Regions from separate parts of the Homo sapiens genome. Here regions 1, 3 and 4 are each linked to region 2. The links are contacts of gene promoters, found by promoter capture Hi-C in human tissues and cell types (Jung and others, 2019). All regions are on one chromosome and are shown on one strand. Each heading gives the region's core, a stretch centred on a gene start or on the middle of the fragment in contact. The rest is flanking DNA. Distances are from core to core; before and after follow the strand shown. Region 1 overlaps RAD50 (RAD50 double strand break repair protein). Region 2 holds the start of SHROOM1 (shroom family member 1). Region 3 has its middle 7.6 kb from the start of IL4. Region 4 has its middle 13 kb from the start of IL4.

The links. The method cuts DNA at HindIII sites, captures the fragments that hold promoters and counts their contacts. A contact is called where the count stands out against the background at its distance.
Region 1: a contact is called between a fragment that was not itself captured here and the fragment with the promoter of SHROOM1 in region 2, in 2 of the 25 tissues and cell types used here (hippocampus and lymphoblastoid cells).
Region 3: a contact is called between a fragment that was not itself captured here and the fragment with the promoter of SHROOM1 in region 2, in 1 of the 25 tissues and cell types used here (lymphoblastoid cells).
Region 4: a fragment that was not itself captured here is called in contact with the fragment with the promoter of SHROOM1 in region 2 in 1 of the 25 tissues and cell types used here (heart right ventricle).

Annotation. Positions count from the first base shown.
Region 1 is chr5:132,637,351-132,640,156 of GRCh38, forward strand. It overlaps RAD50 (RAD50 double strand break repair protein), which reads left to right. Exons shown (of 25, transcript NM_005732.4): 23 at 731-873. It overlaps TH2LCRR (T helper type 2 locus control region associated RNA), which reads right to left. Exons shown (of 3, transcript NR_132125.1): 3 at 698-915. Among named protein-coding and RNA genes, the nearest start is that of TH2LCRR, 17 kb to the right of the region's middle. RefSeq lists an enhancer at 2,269-2,348. The HindIII fragment of the contact is 4,174 bases long and covers 1-2,806 here.
Region 2 is chr5:132,827,140-132,833,456 of GRCh38, forward strand. It overlaps SHROOM1 (shroom family member 1), which reads right to left and starts at 3,508. Exons shown (of 10, transcript NM_001172700.2): 1 at 3,455-3,508; 2 at 322-468. RefSeq lists silencers at 2,877-3,186, 3,397-3,816. The HindIII fragment of the contact is 17,651 bases long and covers 1-6,317 here.
Region 3 is chr5:132,663,339-132,669,447 of GRCh38, forward strand. No RefSeq gene overlaps it. Among named protein-coding and RNA genes, the nearest start is that of IL4, 7.6 kb to the right of the region's middle. RefSeq lists enhancers at 55-104, 265-444, 515-824, 1,621-2,148. The HindIII fragment of the contact is 7,573 bases long and covers 71-6,109 here.
Region 4 is chr5:132,683,935-132,689,907 of GRCh38, forward strand. It overlaps a transcript of KIF3A not described here. Among named protein-coding and RNA genes, the nearest start is that of IL4, 13 kb to the left of the region's middle. The HindIII fragment of the contact is 4,749 bases long and covers 1-4,312 here.

The DNA.
Region 1 (2,806 bases), core at 1-2,500, 190 kb before region 2:
CTTGTAGCAAGAAAATGTAAAGTTTTCTGTTCCAGAGCCTAACAGGACTTACATATTTGACTGCAGTAGGCATTATATTTAGCTGATGACATAATAGGTTCTGTCATAGTGTAGATAGGGATAAGCCAAAATGCAATAAGAAAAACCATCCAGAGGAAACTCTTTTTTTTTTCTTTTTCTTTTTTTTTTTTCCAGATGGAGTCTCGCACTTCTCTGTCACCCGGGCTGGAGCGCAGTGGTGCAATCTTGGCTCACTGCAACCTCCACCTCCTGGGTTCAGGTGATTCTCCCACCTCAGCCTCCCGAGTAGTAGCTGGAATTACAGGTGCGCGCTCCCACACCTGGCTAATTTTTTGTATTCTTAGTAGAGATGGGGTTTCACCATGTTGGCCAGGCTGGTCTCAAACTCCTGCCCTCAGGTGATCTGCCCACCTTGGCCTCCCAGTGTTGGGTTTACAGGCGTGAGCCACCGCGCCTGGCCTGGAGGAAACTCTTAACAGGGAAACTAAGAAAGAGTTGAGGCTGAGGAACTGGGGCATCTGGGTTGCTTCTGGCCAGACCACCAGGCTCTTGAATCCTCCCAGCCAGAGAAAGAGTTTCCACACCAGCCATTGTTTTCCTCTGGTAATGTCAGCCTCATCTGTTGTTCCTAGGCTTACTTGATATGTTTGTAAATGACAAAAGGCTACAGAGCATAGGTTCCTCTAAAATATTCTTCTTCCTGTGTCAGATATTGAATACATAGAAATACGGTCTGATGCCGATGAAAATGTATCAGCTTCTGATAAAAGGCGGAATTATAACTACCGAGTGGTGATGCTGAAGGGAGACACAGCCTTGGATATGCGAGGACGATGCAGTGCTGGACAAAAGGCAGGTATCTCAAAAGCCTGGGGAGCCAACTCACCCAAGTAACTGAAAGAGAGAAACAAACATCAGTGCAGTGGAAGCACCCAAGGCTACACCTGAATGGTGGGAAGCTCTTTGCTGCTATATAAAATGAATCAGGCTCAGCTACTATTATTACACTCTCCTGAAGCTAACCAACATTTCCTGCAACATTATGTAGACTTTTAAAAGAAGGGCCTGAAGCATTCTCACAGGATAGGCTAAATGTAGAACAAGAAGCTGAAGACCCGTTAGAGTTTTCATGGCACTCCTTATCAGAATAAGGTCACTGTCTCATCAGTTATAAGACATACCACTATTTTATGTGCCAGCAGGAATGAAAAAATGCAATTATAACCATAAGATGTTTCAGAATCAATGACATAATAGTATTGCAAACCAGATTCTAGCTTAAGCTAGAATGAATATTCCAGTATAGTAAGGAGTCTCATTAAGAAAGTAGCCCCTCATAGAACTAAGTCCCTACCACAGCATACACAAAGACTTAGCTGCTGGGTCAGGCCATCTGGCTTCAGGTAAGGCTCTGTGAGGACAGCCTACATTGGAAATCAGGAAGAGGAATGAAGTTTTAAAGAATCAGGAATATGGCATCCTTGGGGAACAAGGCTGGATCCTTCACTGTGCACAGGTTTGTAACAAAGATGTCACAGATACTTGAGCTTTCTGCTTTCAGATCAAGGCAGAAGATTACACTTGATAACACCTCTAGGCCCTTGACTTTTTTTAAATAAAATTCTAAAATCATAGAAATAGATGCTTACATTATCTAACTCATTTTCATAGTTTGCAGTTTTTGCTTAAAGAACATGCCATGCAGCTGGGCATGGTGTCTCACACCTGTAATCGCAGCACTTTGGAAGGCCGAGGCGGGCAGATCACCTGAGGTCAGGAGTTCGAGACCAGCCTAACATGGTGAAACTCCGTCTCTATTAAAAATACAAAAATTAGCTGGGCATGGTAGCATGTGCCTGTAATCCCAGCTACTCGGGAGGCTGAGGCAGGAGAATTGCTTGAACCTGGGAGGCGGAGGTTGCAGTGAGCCGAGATCGTGCCATTGCACTCCAGCCCAGGCAACAAGAGCGAAACTCCGTCTCAAAAAAAAAAAAAAAAAAGAACATGCCATGCATATATGTATTATGTTGTCAGCCTAGACAGCTGATCCCAATTTAAAGCATCTGCAGATTACTGTCTAAATCATAGTCTACAAAAATGACAAACTTGTGATCTGTAATCAGTATCCCTACGTGCTTTGATGATTTTTAGTGGTAATTATAAATGAGAAAATACAGAGTTTGAAACATGGTCTCTTTGAATTAAAAATACTTTCAAAAATATCTTGAGGAAAAAGATTTTTTGTAGCTATTCTGAGTTATGAAAATTAATTAGCAATAATTGTCTCCTTGGTGTGAGGGGAGAGAACAAATAATGGAGGTGGGCCTCCAGCCTACCTAACACTGGCTTTTGCTGAGGCTCTAGCAGCCAGCCAGGGGCTCTGCATGTGAGTGGGTGGTGGTAGAGTTGACAGCAGTTTGGATTCAAAGACAGGAAGGAAATGCCTGTCCCTCACAGGGCCAAGCTGTGGCCCTGTCTTCTGGCTTGCCTAGGCATTAAAGAAAAGACATAAACTATTCTAAAATTACCAACTCACTGATGTGTGCGCACCCACCCACAAACTGAGGGGGAAAGGGGACTTACAGCTCACACCAGAGTAGTTTATACTTCCTAGAATAGCCCTACTCTCTCAATTCTGTGTGTCTTGTATCCTCAGATGGTTTCAGTGGGTCTGAGGGTTTTAGTATTAGGTTTCTAGTAACCACGAAAATGCCTAACAGTTCCAGTTACTTGGATTTTCTACAGGTAAGCTTAACTGAAACCACATTTCTATACTCCTGATACT
Region 2 (6,317 bases), core at 2,258-4,757:
AGGTCTCCTCACTTTTTGGGACTCCTACAGTGTGCTGAGCTGACCCCCACCCCACACTGTCCCTGTTGGCTTGCTTCTGATTCCCTCCTCCCATTCCCACCCCTGAGCTTCCTGAGAATGGGCCCTGCTCTTCCTCATTGCTGCACTCTCAGTGCCCAGCAGAGTCCCTGGCATACAGTCAATGTTAAATATTTGGGCCGGGTGCAGTGGCTCACGCCTGTAATCCCAGCACTTTGGGAGGCCGAGGTGGGCGGATCACTAGGTAAAGAGATCAAGAGCATCCTGGCCAACATCGTGAAACCCCATCTCTACTAAAAATACCAAAAATTAGCTGGGCGTGGTGGCACACGCCTGTAGTCCCAGCTACTCGGGAGGCTGAGGCAGAAGAATCGCTTGAACCCGGGAGGCGGAAGTTGTAGTGAGCCGAGATCGCGCCACTGCACTCCAGCCTGGCGACAAAGTGAGGCTCTGTCTCAAAACAAAACAAAACAAAACAAAACAAAACAAAACCCCAAATATTTGCTGAATGTCAAGGGAAATAACAGATTTGCAGGGAGTAGATGTAGGGGTGGCCTTGGTAGAGAAGGAAGAGAGTTCCTTAGCTTCTGCGCACGCTTCTTCCCTCCCTATTAGTCTTTTCTGGGGAAGAGGACAGAATGGGTGAAGCACTTGCCACCATAGACACTGGCCAGGTTCCTCATGCAATATTAGGTACGAACAGAGCAGGCAAGCACAGCTTGGGGCAGGACTCACCAGAAATCAATCCCTTCTGGTCCTGGGAGGGGGATCAAGGGTAAGAGTTGAGTGGGTGTGCCTGGGTCAGGGTAAGAGAAATTTTGAGGCTTGGGAAAGGGCAGTGTTGAGGTTTGGGGCTCCCTATGAACTATGGAGACTTTTGGGCGCTGGCCTCCATTCTCTGAGCTGCTTGGTAGGGAGTGCAGAGTAGGGTGGCCCACGGCTAGGGTGAGGACCAAAAAGCAGGCTTATTTGAGCCTCCTAGACACTATCTGGAGCTCAGAGTCACCCTCCACCCACGTCCCTGAGGCCCAGGATGTTACAGATTGCTGGTTAGGGCAAGGATGGGGGTTAGTGGTAGGAGGATATGGTGTTTCCTAAAAGGGAAAGGCAGTACCTACAACATTCCCAGGAGAGGCTCTCAGCAGACCTAGGACCAGAACATCTTGATGTCACCCACCTGGGGGCATTTGTATATGCCTACTAAGCCCAGGAGCTTAGCCCTCACACTTAGGGTTGGGGACCTCTTTTGCAAAGTATTTCCACTCTAAACTTTAGGAGGACAAGAAACTACTCTGAGTAGCAGCTCCTGGGAGGACAGTCCCCTCATCTAGGAAGCCCACCCGACTGCTCAGACATTAGCCCTTTCTCTTCCTACTCTTTCTGAGTCCAGCTTGGGAGCACTAGCTCATGTCACCCATCCTGCCCATTTTGGCTTGCTGCAGCTACAGATGGGGATCACCAAACACAAGATGTTTCCTCAAAAGAGGTCTTGAAAATCTATGAAAATCTATCTTATTTGTGAGTTACTATGTTAAAGGATTCTGAATTCAGCAAATAAAAACAGCTTGAATGGGCAATAAAAATGTGTCTACACATGTGTTTCCTTATTGACTGTAACTTGTTGAAGATGCTTTTGCACTGGTGGCCCTATCAGGTTGATGTTCACGCAGGCTCCTCACAGTGGGTGCTTTGCAGAACCTACCATGCCAAGAGGGCCCAGCTGCTTTGGTGTGTTTTGGGGGGCCTCAGCACAAAACAACAAGGCATTTTCATACTTGTCTGGCTGCAGGGAGCCTCTTGCAGTCCAGCCAGCCCCTGTGGCTGGGGGTAGCCCTACCTTAGGGGTCCCTGCCTCAGTGGCAGTGGTACCTGTGGGCTGGGCTGTTATGCCTGTGCCGGCTGCTGAAAGGGAGTTCAGAGGTGGAGCTCAAGGAGCTCTGCAGGCATTTTGCCAAGCCTCTCCAGAGCAGAGGGAGCAACCTAGACTCCCCGCTAGAAAGACACCAGATTGGAGTCCTGGGAGGGGGAGTTGGGGTGGGCATTTGATGTATACTTGTCACCTGAATGAAGGAGCCAGAGAGGAAGGAGACGAAGATGAGATTGGCCTTCAAAGCTAGGGGTCTGGCAGGTGGAGGCACCAGTCTGAAAGGAGGAGCTGGGGCTGAGGAATTGTCAAGGGGGCCAGTGCTCCTTCAGTCTGGGCTTCATGGTGTCTGTGACAAGTCAGGCAGCAGTTGGGATGTGGCTCTGGAGTTCAGCAGGGGAGGGTAGACCAGGCAAGACCCAGGTTTTTAGTTAGAGGTTACTGGGGAAATAGCTGAAGACAGTTTCCGGTGGATAAAATCACACCAAGGCAATGGGAACAGATCCAAGTAAGGCGACCGAGGAGGCACAGGAGAACGGACAGCCTCAAATACAACGAATGATCAGGATTTACATCATACCTCCCTCAAGGCCACCTCACATCTGACCTCTCTGTGGAGGGGCTATCCAGGCCGCCCCTCCCAGCGGGTCTTCCCTCAGTACTGGGCTCACTGTGTAGGCGCTGTCTCCCTGTCAGACTGAGTTCCTGGGTACTGGACCACGTCTCAAAACCCAGTACCCGCAGCTGGGTCTGGCTAGGCGGACGTTCTGGGAAGTTCACCGGCTCTCCCTGTCCCCAGCGTCCCCCGTTCTCCCAGCCTGTCCGCGCTGACAGCGCACCCCACGCAGCATCCACGCTCCGAGTGTGCGACTGGTTTACGGGCTCATCGGTCGCTGCACCCCAGATGCAGAGTCTCTGGAGACCCGAGCTCCGTGCCATGCACAGGAAATGCAGGAAGCTGGCGACACCCGGGGAGAGGCGGCCGCGGGCGTGGACAGACCCGGTTACCTGGGGTTCAATCTCTGGGAGCCGAGGCACGGGAGGGAGAGAGGCGCAGGCCCCGGCGGCCGCAGGGGGCGGCAGAGACACGCGGAGCGGCTCGACAGCAGATGGCCGCAGCCCCGCGCAGTTCTGGGCCTTTCCCGTTGGGTTCACCGTCGGGGAAGGATCGCGCGCAGGGGACAGCGCGAGCCCGGGAGGGAAGGACCCGGCTTCTCCAGATGCTTGGCGACAAAGGGCAGGAGCGGAGGGTGGCGGAGTGAGACCGCGCTGCCCGCCGGCGCCACACGCGGCGCGCCCAGCCGCGCCCCTGAGCCGCGCCGCCAGCTTAGAGTGGGCCGCCTCTCCGCCCTGCAGCTCTGCAGCTGGGAGAGGCGCGCTGGGGTCCGACTCCACTGGCGCAACCTGACGCGGCGCCGAGCCAGACACGTCCCGGCCGAACGATGCCCGGGCTGCCCCGCGACCACCGCCTCGCCGCCCGCTCTTCACCCCCGTCCGCCCGCAGCCCCGCCGGCCTCCCGGGGGAAGCGGACCCAGCCGCCCGCTTCCCGCTCCCCCGCCCCCGCCGCGTACCTGAGGCTCCCGCCGAGACGCGCTCCTGGGCCGTCGCAGCCGCGCGGTGACATCAGAGCCCCGGGCTCTGACTCCGACCCCACCTCCAGGCTCCGGCCGCGGCCTCAGGGGAGGCGCCACGTCCGGCCGCGGGGGCGGGAGCCGCAGCCTCTTGGTAGCGTCCGCGCGCCGGCCCAGTCCCAGGTCTGAGGGTGGACAGTGCGTTCCCGCGCGGGCCACAGGCCTCTTGCCCCAGGCCGGAGAAACCTGAGCGAGGTGGTGGGAGGGCGACTACGGCGACCGCCCACCGGCCTCCAGCGCGTCCGTGATGCTCGGGGGCCGGGTCCCTCGGGGCCTGACACCTCCCTCGGTGGGGAGGTCCAGGGCGGGCCCTTAGGCGCCTGACGGCTACCCGCTTTCCCCCCCAAGCCCGGCCAAGAAAACAGAGCTGCCAGGGCCTCGTGCCTCCCACCTGTCCCGCTGAGTAACTCGGCCCTTGATCAACTCTACCCCCAGACCCCCATTTCCAAAACTCTTCCAGCTCTTTGACTCCCACCATGGGCTCTTGTCTCCTGTTCCCTGTCCCATTTCTTTCCATTTCTCCCACTACCCAGCATGGTCTGGGCCCTCCAGCCTGCTACCGGGGTGGGGGAGAGGGGGGCGGAGCACGGGGAAGCCCCTGGACTTGTGTGCACCTTAGCTGTCCTGAGTGTGTCCTTAGGGAGCTGGACATATGCATACCCACTAAGGCTGGACACTGGCGCTCGAGGCCCTCACCTTCCAGGATCTCCATTTTCCAAAGAACGCTCTGCCTGCACCTGCCACTGAGCTCTCCTTGCTGTGTCCTCAGGCTCCCCTGCCCCGACTTCCCAAACTCTGTCCTATGAATACCACTCTGCCAAGAAATGCTCCGTTCCTGAGAGGGGCTGGGGACCCTTTGATGAGCCTCTCCGGCTCTCAGGTCTCTGCCTTTGTCCTCCGCTGCCCTCCCGCTCCCACAGGATCAACAGGGCTGGGCTCAGGGGCTGTGTCCTCCCATGGTAGTATCCCTGGCAAATAAAGGTTTATTGGTGTTAATAACCAGGACTCTGAACTCTGGCCAAGAGTCAAGGTTGCCACTTCCTAGGGACACTGGGAGCCTGAGGAACTCTGTCTTCTTGGGTCTTCTTGGGTTCGGAGGCAGGAGACACCTGAGCCCGACTTCTGAGAGTGGTGCCCGCTGGGCCCTGCTCCTTCTTCAACACCATCTGGACTCAGGCACCAGCTTCAGCTGGAGCGCTAGGCTTTAAGACAGTGCCTAAGAACCTTTCGGCTTTGAAAGACTTTTGTTGTTTGTTTTGCTTTTTTGAGACAGAGTCTCCCTCTGTCGCCCAGGCTGGAGTGCAGTGGCCGGATCTCTGCTCACTGAAACCTGCGCCTCCCAGGTTCAAGCAATTTTCCCTGCCTCAGCCTCCCAAGTAGCTGGGATTACAGGCACCGGGCACCACGCCCAGCTAATTTTTGTATTTTTAGTAAAGACGGGGTTCGCCATGTTGGCCAGGCTGGTCTCAAACTCGTGACCTCAGGTGATCCACCCACCTTGGCCTCCCAAAGTGCTGGATTACAGGCATGAGCTACCGCACCCGGCCTGAAAGACTTTTAATATTTTTAAGACCCTGATCCACAGAGTCTCACAGCAGCATCAAAATAGAAGAAAGACAGCCCAGCAAACAACAACAAAAAATTTTTAATTGCTCATGTTGGCTGGGGCGGTGGCTCATGCCTGTAATCCCAGCACTTTGGGAGGCCAAGGTGGGCAGATTGCTTGAGCTCAGGAGTTCGAGACCAGCCTCGGCAACATGGCGAAGCCCTGTCTCTACAAAAATACAAAAAAAAATAGCTGGACGTGGTGGCACGCACCTGTAGTCCCAGCTACTTGGAAGGCCTAGGCACAAGAATCGCTTGAACCGAGGAGGCATAGGCTGCAGTCTGCCGAGATCACGCTACTTCATTCCAGCCTGGGCAACAGAGTGAGATTCTGTCTCAAAAAAAAAAAAAATGGTTATGTTTTTTACTTATATTTCTTGAAAACTATGGGGACACAGTGTCCAGAACAATTCTATTAACCCACTCCACCCACCTACCACTCACCTCTTGCACACACTACAGCACCTCTCTGCTAGGGACCATGAGGACGCAGTCCAGAGCGATTCTTATTAACCCACTCCACCCACCTACCACTCACCTCTTGCACACACTAAGCAACTCTCTGCTAGGGACCATGAGGATGCAGTCCAGAGCGATTCTTATTAACCCACTCCACCCACCTACCGCTCACCTCTTGCACACACTAAGCAACTCTCTGCCTAAGTCCCCAGAAAACTGAAATCCCACCTACCCACGTCTCTCTTAACCTCTTCTGTTCTGAGAAAGAGAAAAGTAACCCCTAACATCTGAAAGGCCCAGCTGGACCTTGGTGTTGCCAGAATTTGACCTGACATTCACAGCAAGGCCTTACTGTTGTCCCATTGGACATAAGCCATTTCACAGGGCATCAATGTGAGACAGGGCCGTTCTTTAACAATGATGGATCAAGACAAAAACAACAGCACTCTAATCATGTCTAACACATACAAAAGCATGAACATTGTCCAAGTCACAAAAATGACCTAGCTAATGAGTGCCTGCTGTCCTAGCTAATGTGAGTACCTGCTGCTTCTTTACCAATTGCAGCTTTAGCCTCACTCTAATCATTCCTCTTTCTAGATAAGATTTATTAATATACCCAATCATAGAATTACTCTTGCTTCTTGACAGCATCCAGCACAAAGGAAAGTTCTGCTTCTTTAACCCTCTTGAAAAGCACTAACCCAAACCCAGATCCTCTAAGTCCTTTCCAATGCTC
Region 3 (6,109 bases), core at 2,607-5,106, 160 kb before region 2:
ACGTGGCCTAAGTTCTTTCATAAACAAGGCAAGCCCTCAGCAGGACTCAGAGAGAAGGGGGTTGAGAAGGGAGAAGAGTGCTTGGTGAGTGGGAGGAAGATGCTGGCCATGGGGCCCAGGGCGGGGAGCCCCTTGGCACCTCGGGAACCCCAGCCCAGGAGGTTTCACTGGAAGAGAGGCTGGGCTTGAGTGAGAAGTGAGACACACGCGAGTTTCCGGTGAACTCGGCACCAAACACCTCAGTTTGCTGCTCAGATGAGGTGTCAGAAAATGCTCCCAGTCACTTGGCAGGTTTCTCCGAGGCTGGCCCCCTGTCCTGCGCAGGACGAGAAGGAGCAGGCCCCAAGGGGACCAGGCCCGCATCTTATTTCCTTGTGACCGAGGCAGCAGCTTGAAGCCTGGCCTTCACCTGGCCCAGCGGCTTATCGCTTTTTCATTAGGGTCAAAGAGAAATGTCTTCTGCCTATGCCCTTCATCTAGCTGGTGCATTGTAACACACTCCAAACCTGTTTCCCACTTCGCCTGCCTCCCTTCTAAGAAGGTCCGGCTGGGGCCAGGCTGACTATGTTCCAGACAGGACAGCCTGGCCAGGGACACACTGGCCAGCTCCTATCTGGCCTTTCTAGGGGTCCAAGCTGGGGTCAGGACTGGTGGCTGTCTCCTCAGCTACCCTCCCCCACACTCATAAAGCCCCATTATCTTCATTCATTTCTCAGCTCCACCCAAAAGCAAGAGGGCAAGGGTTTGCAACAAACTTTCCCAGATCAACTGATTTCTCGGCAGCAAGGGAGGGCCCCATGACAAAGCCATTTGAAATCCCAGAAGCAATTTTCTACTTACGACCTCACTTTCTGTTGCTGTCTCTCCCTTCCCCTCTGCTATACCTTTTCTTGGGGAAAGTGATTCTCTCACAGCGTCGTTCAGAAACACCCCCAGCCATGTGCTGCCTGCCTGGGCAGACGCTGCTGTGTGGTCAGAGGTGACGCAGGCACCAAAATTAAATATAGCAACTCTCGTCAGCTCCACTCTCTGCATCACTGTGGACAACTGTGCGGGGGCTGGACACCATTTCCCCAAACCCTCAAGGGAGGAAGGCCCAAGCCACCGATGGCATCCCCTGTAGACCCACAGCCCGATGGCCTGTTGGCCACACAGTCCACAACTCCCTGCCCAGCCCAGGGCCCTGTGCCAGAGGAGCTGTGGTGATGCCACATTGGAAAAGGCAATTTTTATTTACTCTTCTTTCTTCTGATCTGTTTCCCACATTTTCTATAATGAGCATGCATTCATTTTCCAATGGGAGACAAGGATAAATTTCATTTTTAAAAAGCAAAAAGAACATGAACGTGATGTCTGCTCCATGGAGGATGTGGACCGAGACAGGCCAGTGAGGAGACCTGGTTGCAGCATCCCCCGGCTGGACCAGCACCAGCACCCCTCAGACCAGCCTAAGTCCTCCCTGGGGAGCCGGCCCTCTCGGGAGAGGAGGTGGGGGTCTGCAGGGGCCTGCAAGGCAGCCCCTCAGCCAGACAGGACTAGCACCGCTCCTCCCATGGGTTGGGCACTCTTGGACCCATCAGATCCCACATTGCCAAAGACAGAGGAAGGTGCTGCCTTCTTGGGGGTCTTCACTAGGCCCTGGCCTGCCAGGGCACAGGAGCCAGCGGGAGTGGGAAGGGAAAGGGTAGGCCGCCCATCTAGCTCTGAGGCTGAAGTGACATTAACACTATGGGGACAGATGGAGCATTCCTGCAGACTCCTCAGCAGCTCTGCCTCTCTTGGGAGAAGGACCTTCCACCTGCTTCTGAAAGGCAAGAGAAGCCAACAGCCTGCAGAGCTACTTCCCCACAGCTCCGCAAAGCGGAGTCTATGCCACTGCCTGCCAGCCTCGTTTCTCTCCTCCCCTCGGTCCCTGTGCCCTTGGATGGGGCCCTCCATGTGTCTGTGCTCTGGGCCCCATCCCCTCCCCTCTCAGGAACACAGGCAGAGCATATAGCCGGGGGCTCAGGGTGAAACTAGTCCCAGCTTCAAGCCCCAGCTGTGTCCCTGACTTCTAGTGTTGTTACTTCAGCCACGTCTCAGTGGCTCCGTGGAAATGGAGCTCCACTCATTCATTCAACAAGTATGGATTGAGGCCTTGCCTGGGTGCCAGACCCTGCTCTAGGTGCTGGGGGTCCACTAAACAAAACAAGGTTGCTTCTAGCAGGGAGACAGAATAAGCCAACGAGAGAACACTCAGTGTGTCGGGCGGTGGTAGCCGCTACCGTGGGAAATAGAACAGTCCGGGGCTGCACAGCAGGGAGAGTGCTGTGTTATGCGAGGAGGTTGGAGAAATCCTCCCCATGAGATAAGATGGGAACAGAGATCGGGACGAAACAAGGGGAGGGGACACCCATGCACAGATCGGGGCAAAGTCATCAAGGGAAAGGGAACTGCAGGTGCTAAGGTCTTGAGCAAGAGCGAGCTGGGGATGCCCTTCCCAGCACTCACGGGTGGCCCTCGGGCTGGAGCAGAGGCCACGGCAAGGGCAGCAGGAGCCCAGCAGGGCCTCAGAGGCCAGGACCGGGCTTCATTCTAAGTGGAATGGAGTGATGTGGTCTGACTCACATTTTAACAAAGTCACCGTGGCTGCTGTGTGGAGAACGCAACGCAGGGCGAAGGCGGAGCAGGGAGATGAGCGCCAAGGTGCCTGCAGAGATGCTGGTGGGGAGCGATGGTGCTTGTGGTAGTGGAGGACTGGAGAGGGGCGTGTGTGTAAGATGCATGTATACATTATACTGCTATCGTATACATTATTTACTTAAATAGTATATTATATAATCCATAAAGTATAGATATAAATATATAATATATAAATGTGCATATATGTTAATATTTACATTTGCTATGCAATTACAATTTTAAAATCTTCTATTACAGAAAATTTCAAATATACACGAAAGTCACTCCCAAGCATCCATTGCCCAGCGTCAACAATGAGCAACTCATGGCCAGTTTTGTCAATTTTGTTCCATCTCTACCCCCGCCCCTTCCCCACCACCACCAATCCGAGATGTCACATCAGTGAAAGGAGAGGCTTTGGGGTGGCTTGGATATGAGCGTGTGAGGTCTTCCCGTGTTGTGTGTGAACAACTGCAAGGATGAAGCTGCCGCTCGCTGAGCTGGGGCAGCCTGTGCTTGATTGTGTCCCATTCAGAACACAGCTGACAACCTACGACGCAGCCTGCAGCCCAACACAGCTGCCCTCCCAGATGCCCATACTGAGTTCCACCTCATCTGGCCACTTCCTGTGCCCCCAACTGCACTCAGATATCTCATGAGGTCACTGATTATCAACTCCACTCCGTGCAGCAACGCATGTCTGCCCTTATCTAGCCTCACCTACGAGGAACATTGCTGCCGCTGACCACTGCTCCTCCTCCCTGGGCCTCTCTCATGCCTGGACTCTGCACCCTGCCTCACCACCTTCCAGTGTCGCAGGAGTGCCCTGGCTCATTTCTTGTCCCCTGTCTTCTCTCACCCCTTGGCCATATTGTTAGGTCAACAGGAGTGGAGGAGAGCCAGGGTGACACCATTTTAAAATCAACTCCATCTTAAAACTAGCTAGGCATATTCCTTGCCAGTCACTACCCATGGTCATGAGATGTTTACGCCAAGGAAGCAGTTTAGTCACGCCCGCAAGGACAAACTCCTACAACAGCAGAATGTCTGGGTGTCCTGATGTCTCATAACAATATATGCTTTCAAGCTATTTACAGTAATGCTTTGATGTACTTACTCACTAAAAGGCCAAGGATAAAACATTATTTAAATCAACAAAGTACTAAATTTTGTGACACTGTCAGCCCACCTGCACATAGACATAATGTAGCTTGGCTTTTGTATAGACAAGACCCCTATATAAGAAAAGCTTTAAGCAGACAAGGCGTTCCTGCTCATGCTTTCTGAGGACACCCTACTCTGAGTAGTTTTCTACATCCTTTCTTTACCACACACCACGACTCACCTTGAATTCCTTCCTGTGCGAGATCCAAGAACTCTCTCGGGGTCTGAATCGGGACCCCTTTTTCCAGCAACACTGTGTTCTTCCCCTTGGCTTAGTCACCCTCCATGTCTACTGCCTGCAGGCTGGACCCTCCCCTGTTCTCAGAGTATGGCCCGTAGCAGCCCCTCAGCTGGTGGCTCCCACCCGCCGCCTGCCCTCTCCCCTGCCTCCTCCCCAAGCCAGAGACCTGGGGCCACCTGCGACTTCCTGCTCTCCCTCACCCCCACATTCAGTCACTTCCAAGTGCTATTAATGATGATGGTGGTGGTGATGGTGATTGCTGGCATTTTCCGGGGGCTTGCAATATGCCGGTCACCACACCAAACACTTCATATTTGTCACCTTCTATAGTATTCCCTCGCCCCTGTAATCAGCCCAGTTTTACAGAGAAGCCTGGATGGGGGAACTTTTCCAAGGTCACCCAGAGCTGGGATTCAGAACCAGTCAGGTCCCGTGGGCACCAAGACACCAGGTCTTAACCTAGACACTGTGCTGGGCCAAATGACTCAAGAGCCCACAGCTCTCCCTGCCACCATCCCACCCGATTCGCGCCAGCTGCCTCTGTCACGGGCGCCTGCAATGCTCTGGCTGGGTCCCCTCGGCCCGTGCTCCCCTCCTGGGAGCCCTCTCTTCAGTGACCTCGGGGCCTTCCACCTGCTGTCCCTTGCCTGCACTCACCCCACCCTGCAGCCCCTGCTCCTGGCTAAAGCCGGCTCATCCCTAACTCTGCTTAAGTGCCCCTCCCTCAGAGAAGTCTCACCTTTTTCCATGACTAAGCCTGTGGGGGTTGGAAAGCACTCTCCTGGGTGCTGGCCTGCAGGACTGACAGAAGAGGAGGGAGGTGAGATTCACCCGACTCGGACCACAGGAATGGCTGGGACAGCAAGCATCAATGAACGAGGCCCGTGGAGACTGGGCTGCATTGTGCGACCTGTATTCCTTTCTCCTAGTTGACTGCCGCGTTTCTGACTCCTTTGAAGCGAGCATCTGGCTTTTCCAATTAGATGAAGGCTGACAAGCTGTGGAGGGGAGGGCGGCAGATACCATGTACCTGGTCATTCAGACTAGGGGTGTCCTTGAGCAGACTCATGGTGTGGAAGTCAGACCGGGAGTCTCCTGGAGCAGACTCACAGTGTAGGGGGTCAGCAGAGGCAGCAGCTTTGGAATCCCGGCACTGCAGCCTCAGGGGTGGCTCGCTGAGTGGGTCAGGTCTTTAGGGTTCTGGGCCCAGCCTGGAGCCTGCCCCTCCAGCCCTCCTGACATTCTTAGAAGCACCTACTTTCCTGCATGAAATCCTTTCCTGACTAAAGCACCCACAGCTGTGTCTGTTCCCTGTAATGAATCCAGATACTAAAGTAGGCGGGCTGCAGTGTGGAGACCGTGACCCACCAGAAACAAGGACGGCAACTCAAAGACGGAGGAGGCACATCCAGGAGGAACCTGTGGGGAGGGCCCGTCTGGCCAGATCTCCACTGCCCTGTCCAGACTTGGGCTTGCCTAATAGATGAAGCATCAGTCATTTCAGCAACTCAAGATAGGAGTCATCATTATCATCATCACACTCACTGTGTGCCAGGCACTATTCTAAATACTTGAAAACTTTAAATGTATTCATTCCTCAGAGCAACTTCATGAGACAGGGACAGCTATGACCCCTATTTCACAGATGAGGCTGAGTAGCGTGCCCAAGGTCACACAGCCAGGAGGCACAGCAGCCAGGCCTGACAGACCACCTGGGCCCAGCGTCCGCTCTCTTAGCCACCGTGTACTATAGCAGCCTCTGTTAACAGACCCCCTTTCTGGATGACACATGCCAAGTACTTTCCATGGAACCACTCACTTGCTCCTCACAAGGAAGAGCCACATTATTCCCATTTCACAGGTGAGAAAATCGAGACCCAGAGAGAGTTAATGATCTACTCATGGTCACAGAGTTGATAAGGGCTCATTTGCTGGACTCCCAAACGCAGTGCTCATAACTGCTACGTTCCAGGGCCTGAAGGAAAAACTCTGCATCCATGGAGGGGCCGGCGCTGGTTCTCAGCTCTCACACAGGGGAGGGGA
Region 4 (5,973 bases), core at 688-3,187, 140 kb before region 2:
CTTTGGAAAACAATTGGCAGTTCCTCAAAAGGATAAAATAGTTTACGATCCAGCAATTCCAATCCTAGGTATATACCCAAGGGAACTAGGAACACATGTCCACACAAAAACCTCTACACAAATGTTCATAGCAACATTATTCATAATAGCAAAAAAGTAGAAGTGGCTGGGAGCAGTGGTTCACACCTGTAATCCCAGCACTTTGGGAGGCCGAGGCAGGAGGATCACTTGAGGCCAGGAGTTCAAGACCAGCCTGGGCAACAAGGCAAAACCCTGTCTCTACAAAAAACTAGCTGAGCATGGTGGCACATGCCTGTAGTCCCAGCTACTGGAGAGGCTGAGGTGGGAGGATGGCTCAAGCCTGGGAGGTTGAGGCTACAATGAGCTATGACTGCGCTGCTGTACTCCAGCCTGAGCGACAGAATAAGACCCTGTCTCAAAGAAAAAAAAAAAAAAGTAGAAGCAACCAAAATGTCAATCAACTGATGGATAAACAAAAAGTGGCATATCCATACAATGGCATATTATTTGTCAATAAAAAGAAATGAAGTACTGACAGAGGCCACAACCCGGATGAACCTTGGAAACAGTATGTGACGGGAAAGAAGCCAAATGCAGAAGACCACATATGGTATGATTCTACTGATATGAATTATTCAGAACAGGAGAATCCACAGAGGCAAAAATAGAATATTGATTGCTACAGGCTGTGGGTGGGAGGCGGGTGTGGAGGCATGGGGAGTGACTGATAATGGGGGGTGGGGTTTCTTTCAGGGGTGATGAAAATGTTCGGATATTAGATAATGGTGATGGTTGCACAATTCTATGAACATACTAAAAAGCACTGACTCGTACACTTTAAAAGGATAAATTTCGTAGTAGGTGAATTCTATCTCAATAAAGCTGTTATTTAAAAGAAATTAAAAGGGGGAAAAAAACCCAAGTGTCATCAAAACTTGCCTTTTGAAGACTTGTTCTCTGTAAGAATATGGATCTAGTAACAGTGATTGAGCACTCTCTTTTCATCCTCGCTTACAGAGATGTGACAAAATTAATATGAGTACTAAAATTACACCAAAACATGTAACATCTTTTTAACCCTTTCAAAATAAGGGAACAAATCAAAAGCTTCAAGTCTCACCCTGACCACAGCCAGTTTCACCCTGCCCACATAAAATACCAGCATGCCAAGGGCAATAAATAGCTATGAGAGTCATGGAGGCTCCTCAGGCCAACCGGAGAAGACACATACTGTAAATTTTAATTTCCTTTCTTCTTTGATTGAGGCTCATTTGCATTCAATGGCTAATGTGAGTTGTAGTCTGCCACAGGATATGGGTAGTGGGTTACAGTTTGTATATGAGGACAGGATGGTAAAGGAAAGTAGGAAGATTTAGAGCACGCCATGGAAAGGACACATGCAGACTCTAAGCAGGTCTGTCATCACATAAGCTTCATTAGGCAAGATGCAACTCACATTTCCATTTACTCCCAGTCAGGCAGTCCTGGACTCTGGATGCAAACATGCAACAACAACAAGCCTTTGAATTTCCGAAGACAATGAGAACACAAATTGAGGGGGATACTTATAAAAACAGTGGGTGAGGCCGGGCGCAGTGGCTCACGCCTGTAATTCCAGCACTTTGGGAGACTGAAGCAGGCGGATCACCTTAGGTCAGGAGTTCAAGACCAGCCTGGCCAACATGGCGAAACCCCGTCTCTACTAAAAATACAAAAATTAGCTGGGGATGCTAGTGCACACGTGTAATCCAGCTACTCGGGAGGCTGAGGCAGGAGAATCGCTTGAACCTGGGAGGTGGAGGTTGCAGTGAGCCAAGATCGTGCCATTGCACTCCAGCCTGGGCGGCAGAGCGAGATTCTGTCTCAAAAAAAAAAAAACAAAACAAAAAACAGAGGGTGAAAAACCTTCAGGATTAAGTGAAAGTTAAGATGCTTGTCATCTGAGCACATTTATGTAGCAAACTCAGCCACAGCCCGTGCCTGCTTCATGGGACATGCCTTTTGTCTGTGTGTGGAATATGACATTGACAGTAAGTCTGAACCTTTCCCTCCTGGCTATCATACCTCCACCTTTTGCCAATGAATAAACTATCTGTAACTGGCATCTAGGGGGTAATAATTATTTATTGGAAAAATGAATCAAAAAATGATTTGGCTCAAATCTATGGCTGTCTTTTATGGAAACATTGTTGGGCTACAGTTACAAAGGGTCACCTCTGTTACAAATGCCAAGGGGGCTCTGCTTGTTGCTGTCCATGTCATTGACCCTGCTCTTGGTTTTTCTCTGCCCTCCTTCACATAATCTCAGGGTGCCCACATTATCTAAGGATGGGAATCTCAAGGCTAAGCACAACGCAGAGCTTCCTTATGGAGCTAGGCACAGCCTGGCCTATGACACACAGGGTTGGCTTCTCAGTTTCTAGTAGCTTCCACTAGGAGCAAGGCAGGCACTTTCTCTAGCCTTGGGGCTGATTTCTAGATTCAATTTATTAGCTCAAGTTTGAGTTCCATTCCCAGGTGGAGTACTAAAATCCCCAGTTAGCTGTCACGCCCAGCGTTTCCTCAACTGGGCTTTTGCCCTAAGTACCCAGACACCCTCTCCTTGGCTCTCTAAAGTGTTGTTGTTTTTTTTTTTTTTTTTTTTTTTTTAATGAGACAGAGTCTCGCTCTGTCACCCAGGCTAGAGTGCAGTGGCGAGATCTTGGCTCACTGCAACCTCCACCTCCCAGCTTCAAGCAATTCTCCTGCCTCAGCCTCCTGAGTAGCTGGGATTACAGGTGCCTGCCACCACACCTGCCTCATTTTTTTGTATTATTAGTAGAGATGGGGTTTCACTGTGTTGGCCAGGCTGGTCTTGAACTCCTGACCTCAGGTGATCCACCCACCTCGGCCTCCCAAAGTGCTGGGATTACAGGCATGAGCCACTGTACCCAGCCTAAAGTGGCTATCTTCTAATCCATCCTGTCAACTTCTTCCTAGTCCAACTTTAAGTCTCTAAGCTGTCTGTTCCTTCTAGTTTCTGATTAGCCAGAGTTCAGCCAAACGAAAATATGTTTTGATGTTTTGTATGCTCACTGCACACCTGGGTACTTACTAGGCAACGTGAATAAGAGGACACACATTTGCTCCCTCAGTTTATACCAATCACGAGTGCAAGCAAAACAGCTGAGAAGAGAGGGCGGTTACTCCTCTGGCTGATGACCCTTTCCACCTCCGGGACACAGGTGTGTATAGCATCTGCTCTCCCAACCACCATCCCAACCAGCATCCCGTCTTGCTCCCTCTAATCCTTCACAAACTCTCCAGCAGTTGTTTCTTTTTGTTTTGTTTTGTTTTTCTGAGACAGAATTTCACTCTGTCACTAGGCTGGAGTGCAGTGGTGCGATCTCGGCTCCCTGCAATCTCCGCCCCCGGGATTCAAGTGATTCTCCTGCCTCAGCCTCCCAAGTAGCTGGGACTACAGGTGCATGCCACCACGCCCAGGTAAATTTTTTTGTATTTTTAGTAGAGACGGGGTTTCACCATGTTGGCCAGGATGGTCTCAATCTCTTGACCTCGTGATCCACCTGCCTCAACCTCCCAAAGTGCTGGGATTACAGGGGTGAGCCACCACACCCGGCCCAGCAGTTGTTTTTCTAAAACACAAATAGGCCAGGTGCAGTGGCTCACGCCTGTAATCCCGGCACTTTGGGAGACTGAGATGGGAGCTTCGCTTGAACCCAAAAGTTCGAGACCAGCCTGGCCAACATCCTGTCTCTACAAAAAAAAAAAAAATTAAATTTTTACACAGCTGTGCTCTCAGCTAATTGGGAGGTTGAAGCAGGAGGATTGCTTTAGCCTGGGAGGTTGAGGCTTCAGTGAGCCTTGATCATGCCACTGTACTCCAGCCTGGGTGACAGTGAGACCCTGTCTCAAAATAAAACACAATGTGAATGGCCCACTTAAAATCCTTCTGTGGCTTCCCACTGCTTACAGAAAACTCTTCCACAGTAGGATCCTGTCCCATCTCTTTCCTTTTCAGGCTCATTTGCCTCCACCCCGTTTGCTCTACTTCAAGCACACCACCAACGCACATGGCATCCAAACTCACTCGCTCCTGGAATACCTTTCCCCAGCTGTTGAACTGCTGAAGACCTCAAACAGAACTTCCCCTGAGAAGCCTCTTCTGCCCCTTTGGTCAGGCAGACATGTGTCAGGCACCATGTCAGCTGCACAGGAAGGATGCCGTACCTGGCAGCTCACCATTCAGCCTCTTTTACCACAGCCCTCAGCATGCTATGCAGTCATTCTCCATTCATGTGGCCACCTCTCTCTCCTAAGGGAGGGTGTGAGTTTTGAAAAGACATTCTTCTCAGCATAGAGCAGGTACACAGTAAACACAGAAGAGATGTGCACATGTAACGGACTACAGCAGGAGATACACTTAAAACAGGGCACATGCTGGGCACAGTGGCTCACGCCTGTAACCTCAGCACTTTGGGAGCCCAAGGCGGGAGGACTGCTTGAAGCCAGGAGTTCCAAACCAACCTGGGCAACTTAGCAAGCTCCTATCTCTACAAAAAATTAAAAAATTAGCCAAGTGTAGTGGCAGACACCTGTGGTCCCAGCTACTTGGGAGGCTGAGGTGGATCATTTGAGCCTAAGAGTTTGAGGTCATAGTAAGCTATGATTGTGACACTGCACTCCAACCTGGGTGACAGAGTGAGACCCTGTCTCTAAAAATGAAAAACAAAACAGGCTACCTGGTGAGTAGCATAACTCATGGTGGGGTAGAAATCAAGGCCAACATAATATTTCTGTAATGACTCTGCTGCTTTTAGGTTGGGTTAGGCAATATCCTCTTGCTAAGATTAGTATCGACTCTGAGAAATACTTTATTCAGTTGTAAAGTCCCAGTTAAATTCCTTTGCACAACTGGAGAAATAAAGCCTTTGATTAAAAACTAAAATTTCCCCAGCCCTCTAAAAAGGGATGGGGGAGGGGAGCAGGTGGAGAGGAATATCTGATCTGTCATATTCTTTAGTCAGAGCCATAAACGTGTTTGGGTGAGACAATCTGATCTTCTGATAACGTTGATAAAAGTCACTTGAAGATTGGGTCACAGGAAGCCCAAGATAAATGCTGAGAGGAAACAGGTTCTTTTTGAAGTAGCCTCTTCGTAATCATTTTCCCACACATTTGTTCAACTTCCGAAAAAGGACTGAATACCTGATTTGCTTTGCAAATGAAACAGCTTAAGACAGAGAAATTGAGATAATAATTAATAAATGTGTTTGGAAGGCTCCTCCAGCTCGCTTTAAGTTCAGGCTGTGGCTTCAGAACTGTGTTAACTCCTTCTGTAAAGGCACAGGCTAACGGTGGTCTTCAGTGATTTTTACTCTACCTTGTTTTAAAAATGGATTCAAAGTGATTTATTGGAAAAGATTAAGACAGAAAATAACATTATTAGGACCAAAGCAGAAAGGGAGTAGGAGGAAATGATGATCCAGAGAAAAATAAGACTATAAGCAGGTCATCAGATATTATAGTCCTATCAGCAAAAGCACAGTGGAAAACGCATTATTTTACTTCACTCTTTTTATATATGCGGGGAGAAAATAGTCTGATATAATAATCTGGTACTTAGCTTTAAAAGAAATTTCTCGAGAATCTTCACAAGATGATAGGATGGACAATGTCTTCAGCAGCATCCCGACAACACAGGCAGTAACAGACGCGTTTGTAAGGGAGTGGCTCAGTGGTATCGCTTGATGAAACTGGACACCATAGCTCCAGAACTCAATTGCAGAAGAGGGGCAAAGGGGGAAAAGGCAGCACGATTTATTATCTTGTACATGCCAGGGCAGGCCTTTAATTTTGTCTTCATGTTCTACACACAGGTAAGAGTTTTACATAAGCTGGAAGTGGGGGAGAGGAAGACCCCTGGAATGACCAGAGGAGTTTCCACCCCTA